Regions from separate parts of the Homo sapiens genome. Here region 1 is linked to region 2. Evidence: promoter capture Hi-C in 16 types of primary human blood cells and fetal thymus (Javierre and others, 2016). All regions are on one chromosome and are shown on one strand. The core of a region is centred on a gene start or on the middle of the fragment in contact, and the rest is flanking DNA. Distances in the headings are between cores, read along the strand shown.

Region 1 (4,856 bases), core at 59-2,558, 510 kb before region 2:
TTAGAGTTTGAAGGTAGAAAACAAAAAAACAAAAACAGTGTTTCAGTACAAAAGCAGTCAGGCAGGAAGAAGTGGGGCAGTGGGTGCACGCTCATGGAACTCAATGGTCTCACCATGTTTTCTACCATCCTTAATCAGCTGGCTTGATAGAACAGTGGAATGGCCTTTTGAAGATTCAGTTGCAGTGCCAGCTAGGTGGCAATACCTTTCAGGGTTAGGGCAAGGTTTTCCACAAAGCTATATATGCTCTGAATCAGCATCTAGTACATGGTGCTCTTTTTCTCATAGCCAGGATTTATAGGTTCAGGAATCAAGGGATGAAAATGGGAGTGACACTACTCAGTACTACCCTTAATGACCCACTAGCAAAATGTTTGCTTCCTGTTCCTATGGCCTTATGCTCAGGTGGCTAAGAGATGTTTGTTCCAAAGGGAGGAATGCTTCACCAAGAGACACAACAATGGTTCTATTGAACTGGAAGTTAAGAATGACACTCAGACACGTTGCGCTCCTCCAAGTCAACAGCCCAAGAAGGAAGTTACAGTGTCAGCTGGGATGATCAATCTGGACACCAAGGGGAAATTGGACTACTGCTCCACAGTGAAGGTAAAGAGGAGTATTCTGGAATATAGTAGATCCCTTAGGATATCTCTTAGTATTATCATGCTCTGTGATGAAGGTCAATGGAAAAGCAAAACAACGCAATTCAGACAAGATTATTAATGGCTCAAACCCTTCAGACAAAAGGTTTATATCACCCCACCAGGTAAAGAACCACAAACAGCTGAGGTGCTTGCTGAAGATAAGGGAAATATGTAATGGGTAGTGGAAGAAGGTAACAAGATATGTATACGTGTGCATATGCGTGTGTGTGTGTGTGTGTGTGTGTGTGTGTGTGTTGAATATCTTTGTTTTCCTCCTCTTTTCCCCTTATCATGTAACATAAGATGTATTAACTTTATGTCATAGTATTTAAGTATTGCTAATTTTATATGATAGTATTTAAGTTTTGGTATGTCACAGAGAAGAGTGAACATAGCTCAAAGACATTGCTTCTTCCTCTGTGGAAGGGTTTATTGTGTTTTCTGTTGTACAAAGGACAGTTGTATCAGTGTAGGTGAAATTATGACCATGTTACCATCTTTGTTTGGAGATTAGCATGGTTCAAGTACATGCATATGCATGCCAAGTTGAGAAGGAGTAGACTTGTGCTGGTTAATTTTTTGTGTCAGCTTGACTTGGCCATGGGGTCAAGTTGGTCAAACATTATCTCTGGGACTGTCTGTGAAGGTGTTTTTGGAAGAGATTAACATTTGAATCAGTAGACTGAATAAAGCAAATTGCGCTCCCTAATTGTGAGTGGCCTTCATCCAATGAGTTGAAGGCCTGATTAGTACAAAATGTCTGCCCCTCCTTTAAGAGGGAAATCCTCCTGCCTGACTGCCTTGAGCCAGGACACAAACTTTCCCTGCCTTTATATTTGCACTGAAATATCAGTTCTTCTTGGGTCTCAAGCCTTCTGGCTTTTGGATGAGAACTCAACCATCAGCTCTCCTGGGTCTCCATCTTGTTGACTGCAGATCCTGGGACCCCTCAGCCTCCATCATTACATGAGCCCATTCTTTCTAATAAATCTCTTTCCAAATATATGTACATCCTGTTTGTCTGGAGAACCCTGACTAATACAAGGGTTATTTGGCGGTTTGGGATGATGTAAAGAGATTAAAAATTCAGAGCTGGCCATGATAATTCTGTGCGTCTGTTCTGGAGACAGAAAGCAACCAGTCAAAAAATAGCAGCTGAAACTCAAGAGACTTTGCCTAAAGATACAGATTTAGGAGTGTTCAGTACAGTTCTCAAAACTCAGTGAGTGCACATAATGATCTGTGCAAAGCAGACACTTAAGAGGCATGGTCCTTCAAGAGACTGGTTCTCAAAATGTAGTCCAGAGACTTGCCTTACAAATTCCTGAGATACTAGTTAGGAAAACACATTATTAGATTCCTCCCCAGACAAACTAAGTTAAAACCTCAGGGTCTGGAGCCCAGGAATTTTTGTGGGGGATCTCACCATGTCACCCAGGGTGGTCTTGAACTCCTGGGTTCAAACGATCCTCCTGTTTCGGCCTCCCAAAGTACTGAGATTACAGCCATGAGTCACTGCGCCCGGCCAGGAGTCCTCATTTTTGACAAGCATCCTAGGTGACCGTCACACACACCAAAGCCTGAGGAAGTGTGCACTGCAAGAAGGCAAACTGCTTTCCTGAGAGAGCTGTCTGACAGGGTGCAGGAGGGCCTCGATCACTAGGTGGCGCCAGACGCACATTTACAGTAATTTTCCAGTGCTGTGGCTTCCTCAGCCAGCATAGAAAAGGAAGCCTCATGGGGCTCCTGGGATTTCTGCCAGCACCTCCTCAAGGGGAGTGAAATACAGAGCTAGCAGGCTGACTAAACTGTAGTCACTGGCACTATCAGTCACCCCCACAATGGTCTGCCTGGAAGAGGCTCCAGTTATTGGCAGAGCGTAAATAAGGAGAATTCTCTGCAAAGCCACCCATTTTGAGCCACAGTGATCCAGCAGGCAGTCTTGGGAAGTAATGGTGTGGATTTCCCAAGACCGAGTCAGGGGCAGAGCTGTAAGAGGCCAGGGGTCCCCCCACATCCCAGACCACCACCGTTCCCAGTCAGGGTATCTTCAGAGAGGACAGAAGCAATCCCTTCTTCTGTCCTAGGAGACCTGATGGTGCTGCAATGGTGCCTAACACTGGCTCTGCCTGCCGCCTGTCTCCAGGCTCAAACAGTCTCCCAGCCTCTCACAGAACTAGAAGCTGACCCTTCCTCCACCCGCTGCTTTCCCCCTTGGCCCCCAGCGCCTCACACTTGAGCTGTTTCCACAGCAACGACTTGCATGCACCTCCGAGTCTCCATGACCTCCTACCAATCTGCACATATCCATGCTGGAGCTTCAAGCACTACTGTTGAGAAGTCGCACCCCTTGCCTGGCATTGAGGACCTGCATCTTCTGGCCCTTTGGTATCAGACTATTGGAGCTCCTTAGGCAGAGAAGTGCTGATGGAGGGGGACTGGGGAGTGAAGAGGAAGACCTGGGGGCCACTGGGCCTCTGGACAAGCACAAAGGCTTCTACTGGATTCTCTGGACCAGAGATAGCCACAGGGTCTGAGAGGAAGCAAGTCAGCTCTGTGCCTGGTTAGACTGGCGAGCCCACCCAGCTGCCCCCAACCCATCCGCCTAACACAAAGCCCAAGGGGCATCACTTCTGCTTTTCTCGACACAGAGATTCTCTAGGCCCTGAGACAATCCTTATGGTTATTCTGGCTACCCTCTCTTTCCTCAGGTCCCTATGCCTCAGTCTTGCTCTTCCCATATTCAGGGCCCCAGAAAGCAACCCATAGTCCAGGTAGGGACAGCAGCACTCCTGGGGCCCAGGGCAGGGTGTGGGAATCCATCCTGCAATAACGGGACTTGGTTGCGTTCCCAGAGTCAAGGAAACGACCACTTACAAACTAACAGGAGACAGGCCTGGAGTGGTTCCAAGGCTGGGGAAGGCTGTGGAAGGAAGGACTGGGGTCCTTGAGTCCTCACACCCAGATCCAGGGGCACCCACCTTGTATTGCTACAGCCAGTTCCCTTCTTCTCACATTCACAGCCTGCTCTCCTCAGACATACCACATGTTCCCTCATGTCCATCGCCACCTGGAGGGCCACATCAGACAGCCAGGTGTGCAGGCGCAGGGCTAGGAGGGCCCGAGTCTCCCCTGCCCAGAAAGCCTGAAATGTGAGCCCTATACTTTCTCCCAATGTGATTATACAGTTATACATTTTTTGTCAAAAACATTAATTAATAATTTATAAATTGCCCTTTTTATGATCCCGTTATAGCTTTTATCCATTTCTTTAAAATGTAGCAGAAGCTTCAACAGACAGAAGAGAACTGGGCCATTCTCAAATCGTGAAAGGCCCTGCTGTAGAGGATCCCAAAGAATCCAACATGGAGCAGGTGCTTGGGTAGAAGAGTCTTAGCTTGTAGCTCCTCCTCTCCCCTCCCCTCCTCTCCTCGCTAAGGAAACCTTTTGGGTTAAGAGAAACCCACACAATAAATTCTGGTCTGGCCTGGACTTGGAGCAGCCCAGCTTTCCCTTCACTTTCTCTAGGTGGGTGGGCCAGCTCTTCTCTGACACACAAGGAGGCTGTGGTCCACCCAAGAGGGGCCAGGTCTCACAGCCCAGCTTTCCTGGGCTCAGCAGCAGCTGCCCCGCCAAAATCCACACACAGAAAGCACTGGGGTCACTGCAGAGCCTTCTCCAGGAATAAACTCCTAGGCTGGGCTCAGTCACCTGGGGCACCCAGGTCCTCAGGGTCCCCAAAACACATACACCTAGCTGGGGAAAAATCACAAATCATGGGCCCTGACTTCTGGAGGTAAAAGCTTGGCAAGTAGAAGCAGTCACTGGGGATTCAAAATGTGTCAAAGGGCAGCAACCAGGTCAGGCAGCTCTTTCACTTACTAACATCATAGGCCCTGGGGATCCCAGGGAGGAAGTGATGATAATAATATAATAGCTACCATTTACTTTGTGCCAGTAACAGAGCTAAATGTTTTACAGACATTATCTACTTAAATCCTAACAACCAAACTAGAATTTGGATACTGTTTTTCTCACTCCATAGATAAGGAAAATTGAGGGCTAAGAGAGATTAGGTAAACTTGCTGGCTCACCCCAGAGAAAGGGATGGAGGATTCCAGCCCAGATCTGCCTCCCAAGCTTGTAGCACTAGGGTTTCATAACCTTATTTTTGGGAGAAGTGGGACAATCTCTCTGCCAGCAAGCAGATCG
Region 2 (4,547 bases), core at 237-2,736:
ATGGCAACATGGTAGAAACTGAATGGTTGACTGATAAGAGTGTGATACAATAATACTAACCCTTATGCAGTACTTAATCTGTGCCAGGCACTGTTCTAGGCACTTCACAAATACTAACTCATTTATCTTCACAACTCTATGAGGGGAGTACTATTACCTCCATGTTGCACGTGGGGACACTCGGGGCCAATGACAGTTTGGCACATTGGTCAGCCGACTGAAAGCTGTGATTTGGCTCCTGCCTTCCTGACTCACTCTGCCCCCACCAGGCTTCACTCGGGCTAACTGCGGTTCTCAGAACTCCCTTGGAGGCCTTGTTCTCTCCAGCTCTGTGCTTTTGCGCATGCTGTCTTCCTGGACTGATCTTTTCCGCCTGGGCTCCGTCTTCTAGACCAGATCAGGCCCCTCTCCTTAGCAATGCCTTTTCTGGTTAAGGCAGTCAGGCCAGGCACACCTGTCTAGCACCCAGCCCTTCTCTCCTCACCCTATTTGCTTACAGATCTGTCTCCAACACCAGAGACTGTGGTTCTGGGCCTGGCTGTCTCCTCATTGTTGAGTCCCTGGGGCTTGCTACTATGTCTGGCCTATAATAGGCACTCAAAGTTTTGCTGAATTTATGCATAAGCTCTCCGAATTTTGCTTTCTTGTCTCCCCCATACTGTCTGACACCACATATTGTAGACACTTAGTCAATGGAAGTGGGAGTCTGATTTTCCTGCCAACAGCCTAACTTAATAAAAACAAAGCAAAACAAAAACCGCCCCCTTCCCCTTTCTCCCATCTCCACATCATAATTAAGATCCCGAAAATTTGGGATCCTTCCAAGCCCTCCGATCAGTGGAACCCGGCAGGACATGAGAAGTCAGACTCCCTCCACTGGCCGGCTGGGTTGAGGGCAGCCCACAGGACTCAGGGCGCCGCCTCCCGCACCCTCTCTCAGTTCTTGCCTATTAAGGTAAGAGTCCCCCGAGGAGGGGGGAGGGGCCGGAGGGAGGGTCCCCTAGAAGCTGCTTGTGTGCTTGCTCCGCGCCGCGGAGCCGCAGCCCTGGACACTCAGTCAGGTGCCCCGCGACTGGTCCTGCCAGCTTCGGGGCAACCTCCGACCCCACTTAGCTCTTCTACCCGAGGTCACCTTCCTAGATTTCCATAGCCACGAGACCAAGTGCTTATCCCTCAAGCATCGCCCGGGCCTCAAACCGGTCTCCGCACAGGGCGCTGATTAAATGGGTCCCCAGTCCCCGGTGGGCGCTCCCGCCCTGCAGGTGCTCCGATAGCCGGCGGCGGTGCGCCCACTGGAGGGAAGGAAGGTGGTCCCTGGGTCCGGGAGAAGAGCGAACGTGCTCCCTCGGGCTGCTCGATCTCCACCCGCTGGCGCCCCCACCCGTCGCCAGCCACGCCGCTTGGGGTCCACGCGCCCCTCCCCGCCGGGCCCCGCCCCGCCCCCCGGAGGCCCCGCCCCGGTCCTCCCCGCTCCGCCCCCTCCCCGCCGGAGCCTGCCGCTCCCCGCGCTCGTAGCGCGGGCCTGGGGACTGGGGATCCCGCCGCCGGGCCGCAGCATGGGGCGCTTCCGCGGGGGCCTGCGGTGCATCAAGTACCTGCTGCTTGGCTTCAACCTGCTCTTCTGGGTGAGACCAGGAGCCGGGAGGGCCGGTCAGGGCAGGGGGCCGGGTGGCGGGCGCGGGGCCGGGGTCCCCGAGCTGCTGACTGCGGCGTCCGAGTCGCGCTCGTGGGGAGGGCTGGGTGCTCAAACGCGGAGGCGAGGAGAAGGCAAACAAAGAGGGAGGGGAGGGATGGAAGGGAGAGAACGGGAAGACAGAAGGTTGATCAATGAGAAATGGTGAGAAGGGGAGAGACACCGTGTGGCTCTTTCCTGGAAGGAACCCCCACCTGCCTTGGTTTTTATCTCCCAGCTAGTGACCCCAGGTGCGGGGACCCAGCCTCTCCTCACCTCCGGAGGACTTGGGTCCCTGTTCCCCTCCAGTCTCCCGTGCACACACCCCCTTTTCACTCTGCCTACCAGCTGGAACCAGGGCCTGGCCAGGGTGATGGGAGAGAAACCCCTGCCCTGGGGCTGCCTGGGGTGGTGCTCCATTCGAGTGTGTGGACACTGTACCTGGCTGTGATGGTTTTGTTTAGGAAATTGGAGATAGGAGTGAAAATTGTGGTGGGGGGGCGTCGTCCTTTTTCTGGGCATCAGGGTAAGAGTACCCCTGGGTGAGAGGAGGTGGTGGGTTCTCTTCTGAGAAGGGGATGGGGAATGGAAGGGCTTCTAAAGGGCAGCAGCAGCTCTCCACAACCCCCAGCCGCAGCCTCTGCTAAATACTAATTCTCCCAGAGATGATCTCATTCAACTTTGCAGGGTTTGATTGAACTGACAGCGTTCCCAGGATTCATGGTTCACAGAGAGATAGGATCTTGACCCTTGTCTCCTATATTATCGAGACAGGGATACAGCTAGACCAGACCTACATCCCTGGATACCCTGTCCCAGGGCCTGCAGGACTGTGAGACAAGGTCTGAAAATTGTCTTTTCTGCACATTTCCTCTTGGGCTTTCTTAAGAGAATGTCAGCCAGTGTAACTGCTCAGCTAGACCCTGAGGGGAAACATTGGATAAAGAGGTTTGAGAGCAGCCAGGGCCTGGGTGCTTTGAAACTACCAGGTTGGAGGAGGTGGCTGTCCTATCTGCTCTGGGGGACGTTGTCTTCCCATGATTGCAACTAATTAATTATTGAATGATGGGCTCCTCTTTTGTCTGTCAATCCATTAGCCCAGATGCCTGGGTGACTTCAGCAACTCCAAGCTCTTCAGTATCCTTCAGCAGTGGAAGGTGTGAAGGAGGTACCTCCTCGACATCCCCTGAACTTTAAAGAGACACATGGCCTTTGTACACGTGGGGATTTACATCAAGCATACTATAGGGAGAGGCGTTTCTGAAGACCCTTTATGTTGTATTTTTTAGGAATCTGGCTTAATTTCAGAAGCTGTTAATTATAGATGTCACGCCACAGTGACAACCTTCATTCTCACTGCTTATGAATTCAAAGCCTTATGAAGTTTTAAGCCTGAGGAGGAATTCTTAAGCTGGGTTCAGTGCTTATTTAGTGGCTGATATTGTACCAGCCTTTCCAGTGATAGCTGGAAGGATTCATTGAATGTTTTCAATGTGTCAGGGACAGTGCTAAGCATATTACTTTCATTATTACACATAATCCTCACAAGAGTCCTGATATACATATACTATTATTATCCCCATTTTTTACAGATGAGGAAACAGGCTCAAATTGGTTAAGTCACCTAAGATCACACAGCTAGTGAGTGGCAGGGATGGTATTCAAACTCAGCCTACCTTCTCTTTTTTTTTTTTTTTTTTTGAGACGGAGTCTCACTCTGTAGCCCAGGCTGGAGTGCAGTGGCCCGATCTCCACTCACTGCAAGCTCCACCTCCCAGATGCACGCCATTCTCCTGCCTCAGCCGCCCAAATAGCTGGGACTACAAGCACCCTCCGCCACGTCTGGCTAGTTTTTTTGTATTTTTAGTACAGACGGGATTTTACCGTGTTAGCCAGGATGGTCTCCATCTTCTGACCTCATGATCTGCCTGCCTCAGCCTCCCAAAGTGCTGAGATTACAGGCGTGAGCCACCGCGCCTGGCCGCCTACCTTCTCTTAAGCACTGTGGTACATTCAATTAACCAGTGGTTCTCAAAAGTGGTTCCTGGGCCAGCAGCATCAGCATATCCTGGGAATTTGTCAGAAATACAAATTCTCAGGCCGGGCACAGTGGCTCATGCCTGTAATCCCAGCACTTTAGGAGGCCAAGGCAGGCGGATCACCTGAGGTCAGGAGTTCGAGACCAGCCTGGCCAACATGATGAAACCTCATCTCTACTAAAGTACAAAAATTAGCCGGGCATGGTGGTGGGTGCCTGTAATCCCAGCTACTTGGGAGGCTGAAGCAGAAGAATCTCTTGAACCCGGGAGGCAGAGGTTGCAGTGAGCTGAGATGGTGCCACATTGCACTCCAGCCTGGGCAACAAGAGCGAAACTCCATCTCAAAAACAAACAAACAAACAAACAAAATTCTCAGCTCATCCCAGACTTGCTGAATCAGAAACTCTGGGGGTAGGATCCAGCAATCTAATTTAACAAGCCATTCACATAATTCTGATCCATGCTCAAATTTGAGACCCATTCTGTTAAACAATGATTAAACAAATAATAATTTATAAATATAAACACAGTTCCCTAAGCTGCTCATCTCATTGAGGAAACGAGACCAGTGGATATGGAACAACACAAAAATAAGACAGTGTGGAATCAAGTGACAAGTTTCACACTGTTGACCGTAAGCACAGTAAGGAAAGGAAGTAGGAGCAGTGCAGTTTTAAGTGCTTGAATGTGTTAACCAGTGAGGTTAGATCCGACCTTCTCTATATGTGATCTAAGTAAGGAGTTTAGAGAAAGGATCACAGTCATGATGAGGAGCCAGAAAAGTTCTCCTTAAGAAGGAGCTATTCGAGCTAAACCTGGAAGGACTGGTAGAATGG

Evidence for each region. The method cuts DNA at HindIII sites, captures the fragments that hold promoters and counts their contacts. A CHiCAGO score of 5 or more calls a contact.
Region 1: a fragment that was not itself captured here is called in contact with the fragment with the promoter of TSPAN2 in region 2 in 1 of 17 cell types (M0 macrophages); the score reaches 5.4 in M0 macrophages.

What each region holds. Positions count from the first base shown.
Region 1 is chr1:115,593,463-115,598,318 of GRCh38, reverse strand. No RefSeq gene overlaps it. Among named protein-coding and RNA genes, the nearest start is that of VANGL1, 46 kb to the left of the region's middle. RefSeq lists an enhancer at 2,157-2,451. The HindIII fragment of the contact is 5,252 bases long and covers 1-3,934 here.
Region 2 is chr1:115,086,442-115,090,988 of GRCh38, reverse strand. It overlaps TSPAN2 (tetraspanin 2), which reads left to right and starts at 1,486. Exons shown (of 8, transcript NM_005725.6): 1 at 1,486-1,625. The coding sequence starts at 1,557. The HindIII fragment of the contact is 10,227 bases long and covers 1-4,547 here.